Regions from separate parts of the Homo sapiens genome. Here regions 1, 3 and 4 are each linked to region 2. The links are contacts of gene promoters, found by promoter capture Hi-C in blood cells and fetal thymus (Javierre and others, 2016). All regions are on one chromosome and are shown on one strand. The core of a region is centred on a gene start or on the middle of the fragment in contact, and the rest is flanking DNA. Distances in the headings are between cores, read along the strand shown.

Region 1 (4,449 bases), core at 1,052-3,551, 420 kb before region 2:
CTACACTCCAGCCTGGGTGACACTGAGACCCTCTCTCTCAAAAACAAAGTAAAAAGTATATCCTGACTGGATTAACGTCAATATCCTGGTTGTGATACTGTATTCTAGTTTTGCCTGATGTTACCACTGGGGAAAACTGAGTCAATGTTACATGGAACCTGTCTGTATTATTTCTTAAAACTGCATGTGAATCTGCCATTATTTCAAAACAACAGTTTAAATTGTAAAAAGGAAACATGAGGACTCTCTGGTCTTAGATGCAAGCAAATGGAGTAAAAAATGTATAATTTGGGCAAAGACTAAAGTAACTATTGGAGGATTCTAAATAGCTTGGTGACAATGACATGCTATCTCTTTCTACATGCCCATAGAGTACTTATTCCCAGTCATACCCTTGCCCATAGAGGCACTCAATAATTTTGTCTTATGTGTTATATTAGTGTGGAATAGACGTTGCCCTGTCAAGCAGTTTAATGTATGAATGTAAATATAAATCACATATATATAATAGGCAGCTCAAGTGTGGTTCTGTGTGAACAAGCCAATTTTTTTTTTTGTGAAAGGACATGATACGTATCCTTGAGAACAGAAGGAAAACATAACCAGAGTCCACATTTATTTTGGGGTCCACAGCTGTGTTTCCTTCCCATGCAGGTTTTGCTTGTTCACTTGCTTTTGCCTTTTTCTATAGGATATCCTTCAACCACATTCATTAGCCTAGGAGGCGGGAGAGTGGAATTCCTGTGTGGGAAGGAAAGGGTTTACACCCGTATTTCTGGGGCCCTAGGGCTCTCAGGAGATGCTTCAGGGAGGGGGGAAATGGGTGCGATTTCTATCTTGGGCGGCCTATTTTCTTTTTTTTCTTTTTCTTTCTTTTTTTTGAGACGGAGTCTTGCTCTGTGGCCCCAAGGCTGGAGTGCAGCGGTGCAATCTCGGCTCACTGCAAGCTCCGCCTCCCGGGTTCACGCCATTCTCCTGCCTCAGCCTCCTCAGTAGCTGGGATTACAGGAGCCCGCCACACGCCTGGCTAATTTTTTTGCATTTTTTAGTAGAGACGGGGTTTCACCATGTTAGCCAGGATGGTCTCGATCTCCTGACCTCGTAATCCGCCCGCCTCAGCCTCCCAAATTGCTGGGATGACAGGCATGAGCCACCGCGCCCGGCCCTGTTTTCTACCTACTTGTCCATGGCTTCACATTGGATTTGATTTAAGAACACATTCCATGTCTTCATAAAATGTTAGAAAACCACCAGCGGCTCATGTCTGAGTTCAGCTGCACAGGACTGAGGTTGCAGCTGGAGACCTGGGCCTCTGCATTCCCTGTCTGGTGGAGGGAGTGCAGAGGCTGAGATGAGGCGTGAGTGGTGTCCTGGAGGGCTGGAATGAGTGCCCCCTGTCATTGTCTGTCTGGCTTCTGCCACTGACAGCAGAATGTCACTTATTCAGTGTTGCTTGCCCAGGGAGGACAGAGTGTGTCCTGCCTTACAGAAGGCCTGGGGCAAAGCCATGACATTTCAAAGTGGGAAAATCAACCAGGATGAGAGGGACTTTTTTCTGGAGAAAATACTGTTTAAAAAATGTTTGTTTTCAAAGTCTGTGTGTGTAATATAGTGTGTGACCAATAGAAGCGACGAGAGCCCAAGGTGGTGAGGTGATTGATCAATTGATGAGAAAAGCCCCTGGAAAATTTGTGTGAACAAACACTTAGTTGCATGAGCAAACGTGCAAAGCAGTGTTCAAAAAGATCTTATGAAAATATTTGGGAGATGGGAGGTGGCAGTTTCAGTGAGCCAAGATTGTGCCACTGCACTCCAGCCTGGGTGACAGAGTGAGACTCTATGTGAAAACAAAAACAAAAAACAAAAATTAGGAGAATTCTTTCAGTAATAGGTTCAATAAATAATTGACTAATGATGAAGAATTAATATAATAATTTATAATAAAATGGTGTAATGATAATAAAATCAGTGAAATTTCAACTGGCTAATTCCACACTCAGATGAGACCAAGATGTTGACCAGAAGGCAATCCACACAGTGACTCTGGAAGGGAGCCCGTCTGAAGCAGTGACCGGTTTTTCTTCCTGATCAGCTCTAGCAGTGCAGGTGGTGATGTGTGATATTCGGATGGATGCTGGAAAACTAACCCTCCTCTGGTGGTGAAGAGTTCCACTTTGATATGTCTGGGGATTCCTGAAGCCTTTCCAGGACCCTTCAGCACTAATGTTAGGGTCCTCGGCATTACAGACCCACCTTCAGCATGGGAGTAACGGTAAATACCAGCGGGAGGAGGCAACAGAGGTGAAATGGAAGAGCATGTGTGCCTGCCCCTCGTGGTGCCACCAGGAAAGCAGGGGGTCTTCAGGGCCAGGGCCCAGAGAGAGCACTTCAGAGATGAATTTCTACCTCCTTGGTCTCCTGCGGTGCTTAATTAAGGCCTCTTGAACTTGCTGGGCTAGAGAAAGATGAGCTGAGACCCTGGAGTTAGTTAAATTCCTAGGAGCGCTTTGATGTTACTTTCTGGGGACTTGGGTTTTGGAATACTGCAAGATCCGACCTCAATGTCTCTGTCCACAATGAGCAGCTTCCTCGGGAGCCTGGCCAGCCTCGATTTGTTGGGCACGGGGGAGAGGTGGAGGAAAAGCACTGGTAGGAAATAAGCCCAAACCATGAATCACCCCTTTCCTCCTAAAGAAGCTACTGTTAAGAGTGAATTGGCTGAAATTTCCAGAGGGCTTTTGGCCACCAGCACTACAATTAGGAAAGAAAACCAAGCGATAAAAACAAATCTAAACCACAGACTAAATCACCACTCCATGATAACCCATCCAAAAAGAGCACAATCCAGCCAGAACTGATTCCCGGCACAAGACCAGCCTGGTCTTTCCGAGCTCTGGAGAGGTCTAAGAAGATCCCAGAGGAGAGGTGAGCTCGGACAGGGATCGTGCTGTCAGGTTTGCCCAAGGTGTTCCTAGTGTACACCGGGTGCTCCTGGCTAACTCACAGGAGCCTCATTCATTCTCGAAAGCGTCCCAGTTTAGATCATAAATTATATGATCATCTTAAAAAGAAAAGAAAGCAAGCCACTGAAAATAACCTGCGGCCTCAAGACTTCAGCAAGTCGGCTCTCAATTCTCTTCCTATGTGACTCTTGCTTGGGGCTGGCGAACCATGGCCTGAGGGACAAAGTCTGCCCTGGTCCTGCTTTAGTATGGCCCACGAGCTAAGAACGGTTTTTACATTTTTAAAGGGCATTTAAATAAAAACAAATATGTGACAGAGACCACAAGTGGCCCGCAAAACCTAAAACATTCACTACCTAGTTCTTTACAGGAAAAGGTTGCCGACCCCCAACCCGGCCACTTGATCTTGTAGCTTTGGGTAGAGGGCTGAGATCTTGGATCATTATTGATGCCTTTGGCCCCAGAGAATTTTGACGATTCTGTATCCTCATCCTACCTTTGCCAAATCCAAGGCCCAGCCCCGGGTCCCCCAGTGCTAGAGAGGCAAAGTAGTGTTTGTGGAATGAACAACATCAATGCAAGCATGTCACTTACCAGAGAATCCCATGCAGAAAGCAAAAGGCATCTGTTGAGTTTCCCTCTCTCTCTTCTCCTCCAAGGGGAGGTGACAAGAAGGAATGAGGTTTACTTAAAGCCTTTCCGTGCCACACAGGGTTTCTATTCTGGTGGAAGGGAATGCTGCGGCCAAGAATTCGGCCTCTCTCCTGGAATGCCCCTGCAGCCACGGTTCCTTGGTGGTTTCCTTCCACCAATTTAGCCTGAGGTTTAATCAGGCCCTCGTAGACCCACATCATTTCATTCTAACTTTCATACTTCTACACGGTCTGTGGTCCTAGTACGTGCTGAGGAAGCCCTTGGGAGGAATGCAGCTTTTCCTGTAGAAAAATGATTATGTTCACTCCTTTCCTGGAAACTGTATCTCTCCAGCATGGGGGACAACTTTTGAGAATCATCATCTTGGTCTCTCAGTTCTATGAGATTGATTCTGGTTCACAGGGACAGTTCTTGGAACAAAGACTTATGTCGTCCTCCTGGCTCAGTCACTGATGGGCTCTGGGACTTGAAGAAACTCACTCAGGGCCTTTGTCTCTCACTCTCTCGCTCTTTCTTTGTTTTTTTTTTTTTTTTTTTTTGGTGACAGAGTCTCACACTGTTGCCCAGCCTAGAGAGCAGTGGTACAATCACAGCTCACTGAAGCCTCGAACTCCTGATTCAAGTCATCTTCCTGCCTCAGCCCCCTGAACAGCTGGTATACAGACACGGTACCACACCCAGCTATTAAATTTTTTTTTTTTTAAGAGATGGGGTCTCACTATGTTGCCCAGGCTGGTCTCGAACTCCTAGCCTCAAGCTATCCTCCCAAGGTGCTGGGATTGCAGATGTGAGCCACTGTGCCCAGCCACCTTCCTCTCTTTACCCATAAAAA
Region 2 (5,199 bases), core at 1,303-3,802:
TTTGGAGCTCAACATTAGTCGGTATAAACCCAAACTTCATAAATACTTAATGTTAAGTACTTTTCCTACTTTCTGCTCGAGGGGAAGAAAGCAATTTCCAGTTGATTGAATGCATTTCCAGACATGGTTTTCCAGTCCAGTTTCAGGCAATTTAGTTTTTTGTTTTTTGTTTGTTTGTTTGTTTTGCTGAGACAATGTTGCTCTGCCACCCAGGCTGGAGTGCAGTGGCACGATTTCGGCTCACTGCAACCTCTGCCTCCTGGGTTCAAGCCATCCTCCTGCCTCAGCCTCCGCAGTAGCTGGGATTACAGGCGCGCACCACCACGCCCAACTAATTTTTGTATTTTTAGTAGAGATGGGGTTTCCTCATGTTGGCCAGGCTGGTCTGGAACTCCTGACCTCGTGATCTGCCCACCTTGGCCTCCCAAAGTGCTGGGATTACAGGTGTGAGCTACTGGGCCTGGCCGGCAATTTAGTTTTTAAAAATCTCTGTCCAGCAGAGACTTCCTTATTTTATTGTTATTATTATTTTTTGTACTGATAGACACAACAGATGCATTTTGAATAAGTCTGAACATCACTACTTTCTATGAGTAACTGACCACTGGGAGACCAGATGAGATATTTCTTATGCCTCCCATTCCAGGAGGCCATTATTTAGGGGACACATGGTGTGTTATGGATATCTAACATATCATGTTGGATCACTCCCACTTCTCAATGGTTCTCTGCTGTACATCAAGAAGTTAAGATTAAAAAACAGAAGCATGAAGAAGAATGTTGTGGACTGATTTTAGTTGCACTGATGTGAGTTTTCCTATCCAGCTACACTTTTTGTCCGGTGTCTACTGCGAACAATGGCACATTTCATCACACAGCTGGATAATGTTAAGAATTATAATCTGTAACCCCAGATTAGATGAAAATAAATGCCACTCGTAATACTAATTATGTTCCTGACCTTATTGTATTTACTTACTAACCCCAAATAAACTCATCTATTTACTTAAATGGGAATATTAACATCACATAAATCATATTTAACAATGAACACATGAAACAATTTATCACCTAGTTTAATATTCTGCTTGACTCATCTAAATCTTGTTTCTCTTACAGAATTTCCATCTGTGTCCACTCTATTGGAATAATGCTGTTTCTGTATACTTCTACAATGCCTGCTTTACTATTGAACAGTAGGTATGAAATGGAGTCCTCAATGGGATTATCTCATTCATGGATACATCTTTTGATAGTAGAAAAACAAAAGTATACATAGGTTGGGGGAAAGACAGAAAAAGCAGTTGCTGAAAAATAGCACCTGATGGTGAGTAATGGACAGCAATCAGGTTTTTGTTATGTTTTCTTGTTGTTTTTGTGACAGGGTCTCCGCCCTCTGTCACCCAGGCTGGAGTGCAGTGGTGTGACCTCGGCTCACAGCAACCTCTGCCTCCCGGGCTCAAGTGATCCTCCCAACAGACTCCTGAGTAGCTGGGACTACACGCATGTGCCACTTTGCCCAGCTAATCTGTGTATTTTTTGTAGAGATGGAGCTTCGCCGTGATGGCCAGGCTGATCTTGAACTCCCGGGCTCAAGTGGCCCGCCGGCCTCGGCCTCCCAAAGTGCTAGGATTACAGGCATGAGCCACCGTGACCAGCCTAGCAATCAGGTTTTTATCTGTTTCGGGTGTGGGAGAGGCTAAGCTAAGCCAGAATTCAAAAGAAAGGAATATATTCATAATTAGTTACACTTAGGGTGAAAAATAAAATTTCAGAGAGAGCAGAATAGGAAAAAAAAATCATAATTTTAATAATTCACACTTATTGCACTATTGTTATTTCAATTTTACAGAGAAAAACAGGCATAGAGTGATGAAATAGCAAGTACATATATAAACAACAAATGGCAGAGCTGGAACGCCAATCCTAGCAATCTGAACCAGCATTTAAAAACGAGGAATTAAAGCACATAGGGTGAGAAAAATTATAGGGAAGGGACAAGAGCTCAAGGGGACACCTGGAAAAGAAATACTATAATTTAAAAAATTACCAACGGGCTAATTATACTTGTGTTTTACTGGCAGAGCGCTTTGTCTGTTAGCTCTTTTAATCCCGCTAATAATTCTGTGAGGTTGGTACTATAAGTTCCATTTTTCAGACAAGGACGCTTAATAGATGATAACGGACACATTCCCTGCTTGCTCTGATCTGCATCTCAACAGCTGGCTCTGGAGCAAGCAAAGGGAGACTAAGGGAAACAGAGCGGAGCAGGGCAAAGAAAGCCGACTGAAAGTGAGAAATGCAGGAAATGTTTCCCATCTAGGCAGAAGCTGGTTCCAGCATTCAAATCTCTCCAGCCGGCCCGCCACCACGTCACAAAGCCCGCCTCTCAGTGACAAAGCCCCGCCCCGTTCCCTTGGCTGTTCTCTGAGCTCCCAATACTTCCCTCCTTCTCTTTGGCCCCTGCTACCCCGCCTAGCATCATTTCCTGTGCGCTGGATGCTGATTGGTCCGACAGTCGGAAGTGAGGGCGGGCGGTGGGGGCCGTTGCCGCAGTGACAGTGCTAGGGGAGTCCGAAGATGGCGGCGTCGCGTCGCTCTCAGCATCATCACCACCATCATCAACAACAGCTCCAGCCCGCCCCAGGGGCTTCAGCGCCGCCGCCGCCACCTCCTCCCCCACTCAGCCCTGGCCTGGCCCCGGGGACCACCCCAGCCTCTCCCACGGCCAGCGGCCTGGCCCCCTTCGCCTCCCCGCGGCACGGCCTAGCGCTGCCGGAGGGGGATGGCAGTCGGGATCCGCCCGACAGGCCCCGATCCCCGGACCCGGTTGACGGTACCAGCTGTTGCAGTACCACCAGCACAATCTGTACCGTCGCCGCCGCTCCCGTGGTCCCAGCGGTTTCTACTTCATCTGCCGCTGGGGTCGCTCCCAACCCAGCCGGCAGTGGCAGTAACAATTCACCGTCGTCCTCTTCTTCCCCGACTTCTTCCTCATCTTCCTCTCCATCCTCCCCTGGATCGAGCTTGGCGGAGAGCCCCGAGGCGGCCGGAGTTAGCAGCACAGCACCACTGGGGCCTGGGGCAGCAGGACCTGGGACAGGGGTCCCAGCAGTGAGCGGGGCCCTACGGGAACTGCTGGAGGCCTGTCGCAATGGGGACGTGTCCCGGGTAAAGAGGCTGGTGGACGCGGCAAACGTAAATGCAAAGGACATGGCCGGCCGGAAGTCTTCTCCCCTGCACTTCGCTGCAGGTCAGAGACTTTTGAATTGTTTATTAAGGGTTATGGGTTTGGGTGCAGGGTCCGGTTAGGACAAGAAAACAGGTTATTGTGATGGGACAAAGTGGGGGCGTGGTTATGGTTCTTCATCACCTCACCAGAAGACTGGAGGTTCCTTTCTTTTGGTGGTGCCTGGGTGATGGGGGCGTGGTTGGGGGGGATAAGTGAATCCAAGGAATTCTTCAGTGGTTGCACAGTACTCATTACAAAACTCACTGTAGTTGGTAGTCTCTGCATATGGATATATTTACACTTTAGTTTTTGGTGTGCAGGAATACAGTTAGATTTGGACAGCTTTAGAGTAGTTTTGTCGTTTGTGTGCTAGTTTATTTTGTTTTTACAAGGGTATGTCCTTTGAGGACAGTCCAGACCAAAAGAGGTTTAATACAACCCAACACATGTTTGAGGATCTATTGTAGCCTTAATAACCCAATGAAAGACATAAATGAAGTGTTTGAAAGTTTCCCTTCTTCTAAAGAAGTTTGCAGTCTAGACGGGGAGACCAAAATATGCCAATGTGAAACAACTGGAGAAGAATATTTGGATGCATTATATGATGATGGAAGAAATATAGGCTTTGATGTTGTGGCCACTATTATTTGTTGTCTAGCAGACCATTTACCTCGTGTCAGTTGCCTCAGTTTTCTCATGGGCAAAAATCATAAAATGATGTTGTGCGAGCATTTGGTGAGAAGTATCTGGCACAAAGTTCTCCCTCAAAAAGTGTGAATTTCTTAAGCTCTGGACCCCACACTTGTCTTTTTTTTTTTTTTTGCAAGTAGTTGATGATTTTCTCTCAAAGACACCTAATAATATGTTTATAAAATAAAGAGAACTGTAAAATAAAAACAAAGGACCATAATCTCACTGCCTGGATACCTATTGTTGATATTTTAAAAATGTAGGTAATAATGTTTTATACATTAGAAACATTATATTGGAAATACATATATTGTACGTTATACAATTCAAATAGGACAGAAAAATACAAAATGAAAGGCATCACACAGAAACATCAGAGATAACACACCAGAGATAACTTCTGTTAAGTTTCTCCTATATTTCTAATATATATATATATCACTTCTTCAGTTTGTTCTGTTAACAGTAAAACATGTGTTGACCCACTGTAGTATTTATTTTTACCACACTTGGGAGATATGATTAACCATTTTACAGATGACAAAAGTGAAGCATATATCGATCGCTTAAATAAGTCCAAATTCAGTCAGGAAATAGTGGAAATTGAGTTTGAATTCAGGCAGTTTGATTTTAGAGCTTGTGAAATCAAACTTAAACTGTCAGAACCCTGGATTAAGGTCACTTTTCATTTTTGTGAGTAATTGAAGTGTAGAGTTCCCAATTTTTGGGAGAAGTAGTAATGCGGAGGGGCTTATATGCAAGAGAGTAGCTTTCACATGTTTTTTATTGTAGCCCATACTTAGAAATACATTTTACATTGTCACATACGCAACTGAATCAAAAGTTTCTGGAAACAATACTTTCCCTTAATACATGTGTTGTCCTCTGATATTTTATATTTTATTCTGTTTCATTTTTAGCAAATGCTGCTTGTGATCCATTAATGGGTCGTGACCAGTGGTATGAGAAACACTTAAAGGAAATCATTGTTAGGTCACTGGATTCATTATTGATATACAGACACTACTTATTAGGAATGCAGTGAATTGAATCAGAAACAGACTTTTGCCTATTTGTTTGCTCAAGGGTCTTGCTTGTTTTAGATGAAATAGCATTTCTTTTTCCTTAGGCTAAATGAAAGGCCTAAGTCTGATTTTATTAATCAACAGAGGTGTCTACTTTTGCATACTTTATTCCAAGTTTGCCTATTTTAACAAATTGCGTCACAAATCATGTCATTTCTCACCATCCCACTTTATGCGTAATCACCAATAAAT
Region 3 (5,050 bases), core at 2,343-4,842, 490 kb before region 2:
TCCTTGGTCTAAGAACCATTTGCCTTGTGTGGGAAGAGATTGATAGGTGGAAGTTTCAGCGGGGGAGTAGGTGGGAGTGAACGATGTGAAGGAGAGAAACTGGCCGTGAAGGACAGAAGTTGGAAAGCTAGCTGCTTGTCTAGCCACCTTATCAGCATAAGCATTGTCTAGAGCAACGGGATCTGATGCGTTTTGATGCCCCTTGCAGTGAATGACCCCAGCTTCTTTTGGAAGTAAAGCGGCCTTAAGCAGAGTTTTTATTAAAGAGGCATTAATGATGGAGGACGCTTGCGTAGTGAGGAAACCTCTTTCAGCCTGTATAACAGCATGGTGGTGCAGAATATGAAAGGCATATTTAGAGTCAGTATAAATATTGACGCGTAGTCCTTTTGCAAGAGCGAGGGCTTGAGTTAAGGCAACTAATTCGGTTTGTTCAGAGGTAATGGAGGGGAGCGGAGCGGTAGCCTCAGTGATAGATGTGGAAGATACTATAGCATAGCCTGCCTTTGCTGATGAGTGGCGATTAGGCCTGCTGGAACTGCCATCAATAAACTAAATGTGATCGGGGTGAGGAGCAGGAAGGAAGGAAATATGGGGAAATGGGGTGAATGTCAGGTGGATCAGCCAGATACAGTTATGAGGGTCAGATGTGGTATCCAGAATAATGTGGGAGGCCAGATTGAAGTCCGGGCCAGGAACAATGGTAATTGTGGGAGACTCAACAAAGAGTGAGTACAGCTGAAGGACCCGGGGAGCAGAAAGTATATGCATCAGGTGTGAGGCAGAAAATAGACTTGGGAAGTTATGAGAGGTGTAGAAAGTGAGTTGACCATAGTTTGTGATTTTAAAGGTCTCTGAAAGTATTAGGGCAGTGGCGGCCGCTGCACGCAGACATGAGGGCTAGGCTAAAACAGTAAGGTCAAGTTGTTTGGACAGAAAGGCTACACAGTGCTGTCCCAGCTCTTTTGTAAGAATTCTGACCGCACTAACCATGCCTGGGAAGGAAAGGAGTTGTTGTTTTGTAAGGGATTGAGGTTTGGGAGATTAGCCAGACATGATCAGCAGGGAGAGCATGTGTGTTTTTATGAGAATTATGCCGAGATAGGTAACAGATGAGGAAGACATTTGGGCTTGACTGAAGTAATGGGTGCTGTCCGTGAAGTTTTGCAGCAGTATAGCCCAGGTAATTTGCTGAGCCTGATGGGTGTCAGGGTCAGTCCAAGGGAAAGCGAAGAGAGGCTGGGATGAAGGGTGCAAAGGAATAGTAAAGAAAGCATGTTTGAGATCCAGAACAGAATAATGGATTGTGGAGGGAGGCATTGAGGATAGGAGAGTATATGGTTTTGGCACCACGGGGTGGATAGGCAAAACAATTTGGTTGATAAGGCACAGTCTTGAACTAACCTGTAAACTTTGTCTGGTTTTAGGACAGGTGAAATGGGGGAATTGTAAGGGGAGTTTATAGGCTTTAAAAGGCCATGTTGTAGCAGGTGAGGGAAAACAGGCTTTAATCTTTTTAAAGCGTGCTGTGGGACAGGATATTGGCATTGAGTGGGTAAGGGTGATTAAGTTTTAATGAGATTGTAAGGGGTGCATGATCAGTCGCCAAGGAGGGAGTAGAGGTATCTTATACTTGTGGGTTAAGGTGCGGGGATACGAGAGGAGAATGCGAAGGAGGCTTTGAACTGGGGAAAAGGGCAGCAATGAGGTGTGGCTGTAGTCCAGGAACAGTCAGGGAAGCAGATAATTTAGTTAAAATGTCTTGGCCTAATAAGGGAACCGGGCAGGTGGGGATAACTAAAAAAGAGTGCAAAAAAGAATGTTTTCTAAGTTGGCACCAGAGTTGGGGAGTTTTAAGAGGTTTAGAAGCCTGGCTGTCAATACTTACAACAGTTATGGAGGCAAGGGAAACAGGCCCTTGAAAAGAAGGTAATGTGGAGTGGGTAGCCTTCGTATTGATTAAGAAGGGGACGGACTTAACCTCCACTGTGAGAGTTAATCAGAGTATCTGTGATGGTCCTGTAGGCTTCCGAGGCAATCCGGCAGTGTCAGTCTACAGCCGCTAAGCTGAGAAGATCTGGGAAGGAGTCAGTCAGAGAGCCTTGGGCCAGAGTTCCAGGGGCTCTGGGAGTGGCTGCCAGGTGAGTTGAACAGTCTGATTTTCAGTGGGGTCTCGCTCAGATGGGACGTGGCTTAGGAGGAATCCCGGGCTGTGGGCATTCCTTGGCCCAGTGGCCAGATTTCTGGCACTTGTAGCAAGCTCCTGGGGGAGGAGGTTCTGGAGGAACCCCTGGCAGCTGCGGTTCAGGTGTTTGGAGTTCTTGTGTGCTGGAGATGTGGCTGGGGTTTGTCTCACAGTGGAGGCAAGGAATTGCAACTCAGAAATATGTTGCTACTTGGCTGCCTCTACTTTATTATTGTACACCTTGAAGGCCAGGTTAATTAAGTCCTGTTGTGGGGTTTGAGGGACGGAATTTAATTTTTGGAGCTTTATTTAATGTCGGCAGCAGATTGGGTAATAAAATAAATGTATATTGAGAATAAGACGGCCTTTTGACCTTTTAGGGTCTAGGGCTGTAAAGCGTCTCAGAGTTGCTGCTAAAGGGGCCATGAACTGGGCTGGGTTTTTTATATTTGATGAAAAAGAGCCTAAACACTAACTGATTTGGGAGAGGTCAGATAAAGAAAAAGCATTAACCTTGACTATGCCTTTAGCTCCAGCCACCTTTTTAAGAGGAAATTGCTGGGCAGGTGGGGGAGGGCTAGTCATGGAATGAAACTGTAAGCCAGACCGGGTGTGAGGAGGGGAGGTGATAAAAGGATTATAGGGTGGAGGAGCGGAGGCTGAGGAAGAATCGGGACCTAGCTCGGCCTGGCAAGGAGGGGAGAGGTCAGATGGGTCTGTAGAAAAGGAAGATTAGAAAGACTCAGCGATGCTTGGGGTTGGGACTGAGGGGACAGGCGGGAGGGAAAGAAGGAAGATTTGGGATGAGTTGCATGGGGAACAGAGACTAGGGAGGGTCCAATGTGTAAAAGAATGCCTGGACATCGGGCATCTCAGACCATTTGCCCATTTTACAACAAGAATTATTTAGATCTTGTAGGATGGAAAAATTGAAAGTGCCGTTTTCTGGCTATTTGGAACCACTGTAGAGTTTATACTGGGGTCAAGTGGCATTGCAGAAGAAAATAAGGCATTTAGGTTTTAGGTCAGGTGTAAGTTGAAGAGGTTTTAAGTTCTTGAGAACACAGGCTAAGGGAGAAGAAGGGGGAATGGAGGGTGGAAGGTTGCCCATAGTGAAGGAGGCAAGCCCAGAGAAAAGAGAGAGTAGAGACACGGAGGGAAGGGGTTCAGGGGTTCTTACCCTCCAGAAAAGCAGGAAAGGGGTTGGGGTGTGTAAATAAGGGGTTGGGGCACAGAGATAAGAGGTTGGAGTGTGGAAATAAGGGGTCAGGGTGCAGAGATAAGAGGTCGGGGCATGGAAATAAGGGATTGGGGCACAGAGATAAGAGATCGGGGCATGGAAATAAGGGATCGGGGGGTTCTTGCCCCCTAGAGAAGCGATACTTGCCGCTAAGGGTGAAGGAGAAGGGGGGTTGGGGGGGTTTCTTGCCCCCCAGAAAAGCAGAGAAGGGGTGGAGACATGGAGAGAAGGAGTTGGGGGGTTCTTGCACCCCAGAAAAGCGGTACTTGCCGCTAAGGGTGAGGGACAAAGGCAGGCGTCCTTGAGTGGTCAGACACCTCTGAAACATGGGTGAATTATCAGAGAGGCGTCCCTACAATGATTAAACACCAAGGGAAGGCTGCCTTCCCTAGTCCGTGACTGGCACCGGAGTTTTGGGTCCACGGATAAAACGTGTCTCCTTTGTCTCTACCAGAAAATGAAAGGAATTGAAATTAAGAGAAGTGAGAGATTGAAGGGTGGTGCAAAGATTGAAAGGAGAAAGTGGTTGAGGGATAGTGAGAGAGGTTGGAGAAGAGAGTAAGAAGAGGCTGCTTACCCAATTTAAAATTGGTGAGTTGTTCCTTGGGCTGGTGGGTCTGAGGACCTGAGGTCCTAGGTGGATCTTTTTCACGGACCAAAGAGCAGGAGGACAGGGGATTGATCTCCCAAGGGAGGTCCCTTGATCCGAGTCATGGCACCAAATTTCATGCGCATCCATGTGAAGAGACCACCAAACAGGCTTTGTGTGAGCAACAGGGCTGTTTATTTCACCTGGGTGCAAGCGGGCTGAGTCCGAGAAGAGAGTCAGCGAAGGGAGACAGGGGTGGGGCTGTTTTATAGGATTTGGGTAAGTAAAGGAAAAAGCGGGGTTGTTCTCTGGCAGGAAGGAGTGGGGGTCACAAGGTGCTCAGTAGGGGAGCTTTTGAGCCAGGATGAGCCAGGAGAAGGAATTTCACAAGATAATGTCATCAGTTAAGGCAGGAACAGGCCATTTTCACTTCTTTTGTGGTGGAATGTCATTAGTTAAGGCAGGAACCGGCCATCTGGATGTGTACGTGCAGGCCACAGGGGATATGATGGCTTAGCTTGGGCTCAGAGGCCTGACACCAACTATCTATAGTACAGCTAAGTGCATGTACAAAAAAAGTTACTGGAATGCTCAGAATAAGATTGTTTAGTTGTTTTTGCTTCTTTCTACGAGGTTTCTTTTGTTCTTTGAGGTGATGATGAACTTGGTCACACCACAAGTAAAGTCAGAAGTAAGGCAGAGGATGCTCAGTAGGCTGGTTTGATCACCTGAGATCATTAAAAATGGCTGACTGCCAGCTGGGCGCAGTGGCTCACACCTGTAATCCCAGCACTTTGGGAGGCTGAGGCAGGCAGATCACGAGGTCAGGAGATCGAGACCATCTTGGCTAACGTGGTGAAACGCCGTCTCTACTAAAAATACAAAAAATTAGCCAGGCGTAGTGGGGGGCGCCTGTAGTCCCAGCTACTCGGGAGGCTGAGGCAGGAAAATGGCATGAACCCGGGAGGCGGAGCTTGCAGTGAGCTGAGATCGCAGCACTGCACTCCAGCCTGGGCAACAGAGCGAGACTCCATCT
Region 4 (4,454 bases), core at 1,468-3,967, 450 kb before region 2:
GATCTCGTGAGAACTCACTTACTATCAGGAGAACAGCCTAGGGGAAACCACCCCCTTGATCCAATCACCTCCCACCAGGCCCCTCCCCATGGGGATTACAATTCGAGATGAGATTTGGGTGGGGACACAGAGCAAAATCATATCACCCTGGCTTCCATCAGATTTCAAAGAAATCCATGATTCAAAGGCAATTTAGAACCACTGGGAGATTGTTTTTCATTCATTCAACAGTATTTACTGAATATCCACTATGGGTCAAGCGTTTTGCTCAGATAAACCATGTCCCTGACTTTCAGGAAGGTACAGCCTAGACTGGTGAATAAAAGTATGACCTGTTTTGTGAATCTGTGTGTTATCACGCTATTATTAGGTTGGTGCAAAAGTAATTGCGGCTTTTGCCATTGAAAGTAATTACTTTTGCACCAACTTCATGCTTACTTGTATGGAGATGACACGTCAGAGAGAAAGGAGAGTACATGAAACAAAAAGCAGAAGAATCCAGACAGTTGAGTGGACATGAAAAAGAGGCCCTGTAAGCAAGGAACAGGCATCAAGAAAATAAACCTTCCTGACTTTGACTGACAGCCAGCTGCTATATTAAGGTGTAGGATTGTGTAGGTTCTGCCCCACGGAAGTGCCGGCCAAGGGTTGAGTGGAGAGGGTTGGGGTGGGGAGGTGACGAGATGCAGCTTGAGCTCCCTTCACCAAGCTGGGGGCCCTGAAGACTCTGCCTACCTGGATAGAGTAACTTTTTCTAATATGCTTCAAGGTGCTATAAGAGGCTGCCAGCCCAGTGTATTGCTGCTACACAGAGAGTCAGATTTTCCTTTAGGAGCTGAGCTGTTAAACTTGAAAGTAGATCAACTCTAGTTCTGAAAAAGAAAAAAAAAAAAGTGGGTTCTTTGGCTCTTTGCTCAGTTGATCCCTTAGAGGACATGATCAAGATAACTAACAGTTGGGTCACTATGTCAACAGTGTTTGGAGAACAAAGGAGGTGTCATTCAGCCTCACACCTTTCCAGGCAGCTAGTAAGGTGAGTTGGAAAAATCCTAATGCAGGAGAGGAATTTGTTTTTTTTGCATCTCGGTCCTCTCATTTTATAGATGAAGAAACTGGGACCCAGGATGATTATTTCCCAGCCTTTTCTTAAGCATGCAGCTGGAGAGTGGATGGTAAAGGCAGGAGGCCTTGGAGGATTTGTTGTACTCACTATGAGCACTTGACAATGGGAAGGGGCCCCTCTGCAGTGGCACTGGCTCTCCTGGCCCTGTTCACAGTGTCTAGCTCCACCCACCTGGCATATCTTGGGGCCAGAGCCTGTGCATATTTACTCTTTCGAGTCTTGCACTTTGCTCTTTTATTTTTACTGGCCCTGCACTTGTGTTTGCTCTTGGTGCTCTCTTCATACATATTGCAGGAGGCCCCCTGTTTAACTTGAGCTTGGGACTAAATATAACCACTGCTATCACCAGAGGCATCCATACATGTCAGCCCTTTTTCAGTGTTTGTCTGCTCCACCCCAGGTCGCAGGCACGGGGCAGGCCCCCGCGCTCCTTTCATAGGAATTCGGTTTTAAATGGAAACTATCACCAAAAGCAGGGGTGACTGGGGCCGGGAAGAAATCAATTCTTATCACAAGCTGCACTCATGCTTTGTCCCTGGTGTGCAAAAGCCCAGTCCCCAAATCTCCAAACCTCTCTTCTCCGTTTAACAGCATGGTAGATGCCCCTCTCGCTGACTCCATTTCCATCCTGTGAGCCCTTTGAAAGGAACTGCAAAGTGTCTGTAGCTTTGACATGTGCTTTTGTCTTCTGGGGCCTTCCAAAGCCTTTAGGTCATGCCACAGACCTGCAAACCATGGTTCTTGGACATTGTTCCCACACTGCACATTGCACCAGGAGAAGCTTCCACCTCACCTCCTCCAGGAAGCTCTCTCCCACACTCCTATCAACACTGCCCTTGCCTGTCTATAGTAATCGTGGTGATTAAAAGTTGCCTGCGTGGTTCATAAATTATTGTGTGGTTTTTCATCTTGTCAAAATGAGAGCAAAAGCCCTTCATTACTTGAATTAGTGTCTTCCACTCACCAATCCCTGATCCCTTTTCTCAGTGCTGAGAAAACAGGTGCTTGCCAATATCTCACTCTCTTGAGAACACTGAAGAAGATTCAAGCTCGCGTTTCCTACTTCTCTGAATACGGTAGGATCTGCTCTGACCTTCACTGCAGGCTGGGGAATGCCAGGCCAGAAGAGGGGCTTGGAGGGGCAGCTGGAGCTCCTAGAGAGAAAAGAGGGCACCCGCCCAGCCAGCTGAATCAACCCGGGATAATGAAACAGCAGAACTCGAAACCACATTGTTCTTGCAGCTTCCACTGGGTCTGAAATCAGATCCTTTACAATTTCTTCAAGGTCTACAAGTTCAGAAACTCACTCCTTTGAAAGAATACTGCCTGCAGTGACATCATTTTCTGAATCAATCCCTTTTTCTCTCCATCCCTTCTAGCAATTGTGAGCACCTGCTGCGTACAAAGCTCGGGGTTAACAAGAAGTCTAAGATGTACTCCTTGTACTTCTAGAGCGTGCTATCTAGGACAAAAGACTTATTTAAAGTTATGTTCAAAGGAAGAAGAAAGGACCCTTGGATAAGTCGACTGGGCTGCTCTTGGGGGCTGTCAGCAGCAGGGGTTATTTCGGGCACAAATTCAGGGAGAGTGGGTGATGATAGAGTAAGGAGATGTACAGGGGAAAGAGGAAGGGTTTATTTATGTGTTCATTTGTGAACTTGTTTCAACCCCGGGGAAAGAAGCAAGTGGTGAAGGTGGAGATTGCAAATACCAGAAAAGGCAGAAAGGAAGAGTACCCGAGACTCCATTGGAGAAAGAGTCAATGCAGTGTGGCAGGAACATGGGGCCACACCTCGGACGCTTCTCCATGAGGACAGGTCGTGATTGTTCCATCAGCCTGTAGATGCACAGCTAGCAGTTTTCTATATGGCTGCCCAGCTGCTCAGGCTGTTCTCCAAAAGGTCTTCTTAGGTCACGTGTTGGCTGTAGGTGAGGACTGGGAATACGTCTTGTTCTTTGCCCTGGATCCTGTGTGTACAAGGTCACCCTCATGCCATCGGGACTTTGAGTGAGGACACAGTGTCCGACGCCATTCATGGAAAGAACTATTCCGGTCAGGGTACATCTGAAACTGGCTACAGTTTGCTGGTAGGGGTGGCGTGGGGTAGAGGCATCAGAATTTGAGAGTCTCTCTGGCTTCAACATCTCTACTGCAGACAATTAACCTCAAGAGGCCCCAGGAGGGGATCTTCCTGGTGCCATTAAGAACACAGAGCATGAGGGGCCTCCCGTCTTCAAGGAGGTGGAGCTGGCTGTGAGCTCAAGGTGGGGCCTTCTGATTTTCAGTGATTTGTTGTTAGAACCGGAATTTCAGGGTTTTTGCAGCCTGGGGTCTATCCAGGCAGGTGTTAGAAAACTGGAATGACTAGATCATTAAGTGGTGTTGAGTGTGGCCATGCCAGAGTATGAAAGCTTTAGCAGGAACACAGAGCAGGAGCTTATCTCCGCTGCCTCAGTCGGACACATGATATTGCATTAGACATAAGCTCAAAGCTCACATCTCCCTTGGAAATACACAGTAACATCTAAAAACAATGAATTGAGATTAATAAAATATTCTTGGCTTGTGTTTTAAATCAAATTGGAAGTCCAGTTCATTTTGATCACTAATAGATGCTTTTTGCTGTTCCACAATCCATGCAAAATAAGATAATATGTTGTGTGTATAGCCCAGGACCTGGTGGACACTCAGAAATGCTGGTTATTTTCCTTAGTCTCGTCCCACCTGTTCCCCATAGAAGAAAGTCTGCACCCCATACATTTGAAACCCTGCACAATTTTTTCCCTTTCTTGTGTTCAATCATATGTAAGCACTAATTATGCGCCAGGCCAGGGAACACAATAGACAAAGTCCTTGCCCTCATAGAAGTTATTTATTTACTTATTTCTTAGAGACAGGGTATTGCTCTGTTGCCCAGGCTGGAGTGCAGCAGTACAATCATTGTTTACTCCAGCCTCCAACTCCTGGGCTCAGGCAATCCTCCCACCTCTGCCTCCCAAGTAACTGGGGTTACAGGCATTCACCAACATGTCCAACTCCTCATGGACATTATAATAGGAGAGAAAGTCAAGAAACAAATAAAGCACAGTACTGGCATGAACCAGTACCATGCCAGGTAATGAGAAGTTCTAAGAAAAAAGTGCAGCAGGGTCAGAGGATTAAGCATCCGCCTTAACATCTTTACTTTACACTTAGTCACCAAAGGAGCCCTCTGCTAGAGCCAGGCTCACATCCAGCCTCACATAGTACAGAGTCTCTTGAAGGTCAAAGTGTATGCATTTCAACTATTTCTTTCCATAAAAGCCCTCCAAGTCCCCTAACTCAGGGATC

The links. Contacts are between HindIII fragments. The CHiCAGO score rates a contact against its expected background, and 5 or more counts as called.
Region 1: a fragment that was not itself captured here is called in contact with the fragment with the promoter of TNKS in region 2 in 1 of 17 cell types (neutrophils); the score reaches 6.3 in neutrophils.
Region 3: a contact is called between a fragment that was not itself captured here and the fragment with the promoter of TNKS in region 2, in 1 of 17 cell types (neutrophils). The highest score is 5.6, in neutrophils.
Region 4: a contact is called between a fragment that was not itself captured here and the fragment with the promoter of TNKS in region 2, in 1 of 17 cell types (neutrophils). The highest score is 5.2, in neutrophils.

Annotation. Positions count from the first base shown.
Region 1 is chr8:9,130,512-9,134,960 of GRCh38, forward strand. It overlaps LOC112268402 (a long non-coding RNA gene), which reads right to left and starts at 4,308. Exons shown (of 3, transcript XR_007060803.1): 1 at 3,558-4,308. RefSeq lists an enhancer at 1,138-1,638 and a silencer at 3,268-3,562. The HindIII fragment of the contact is 6,685 bases long and covers 1-4,449 here.
Region 2 is chr8:9,553,360-9,558,558 of GRCh38, forward strand. It overlaps TNKS (tankyrase), which reads left to right and starts at 2,553. Exons shown (of 27, transcript NM_003747.3): 1 at 2,553-3,253. The coding sequence starts at 2,581. RefSeq lists enhancers at 2,236-2,897, 2,898-3,557 and a silencer at 2,656-2,815. The HindIII fragment of the contact is 11,121 bases long and covers 1-5,199 here.
Region 3 is chr8:9,060,644-9,065,693 of GRCh38, forward strand. It overlaps a transcript of ERI1 not described here. Among named protein-coding and RNA genes, the nearest start is that of SNORD3I, 4.5 kb to the left of the region's middle. RefSeq lists an enhancer at 1-466. The HindIII fragment of the contact is 7,622 bases long and covers 1-5,050 here.
Region 4 is chr8:9,101,421-9,105,874 of GRCh38, forward strand. No RefSeq gene overlaps it. Among named protein-coding and RNA genes, the nearest start is that of PPP1R3B-AS1, 38 kb to the right of the region's middle. The HindIII fragment of the contact is 1,631 bases long and covers 1,903-3,533 here.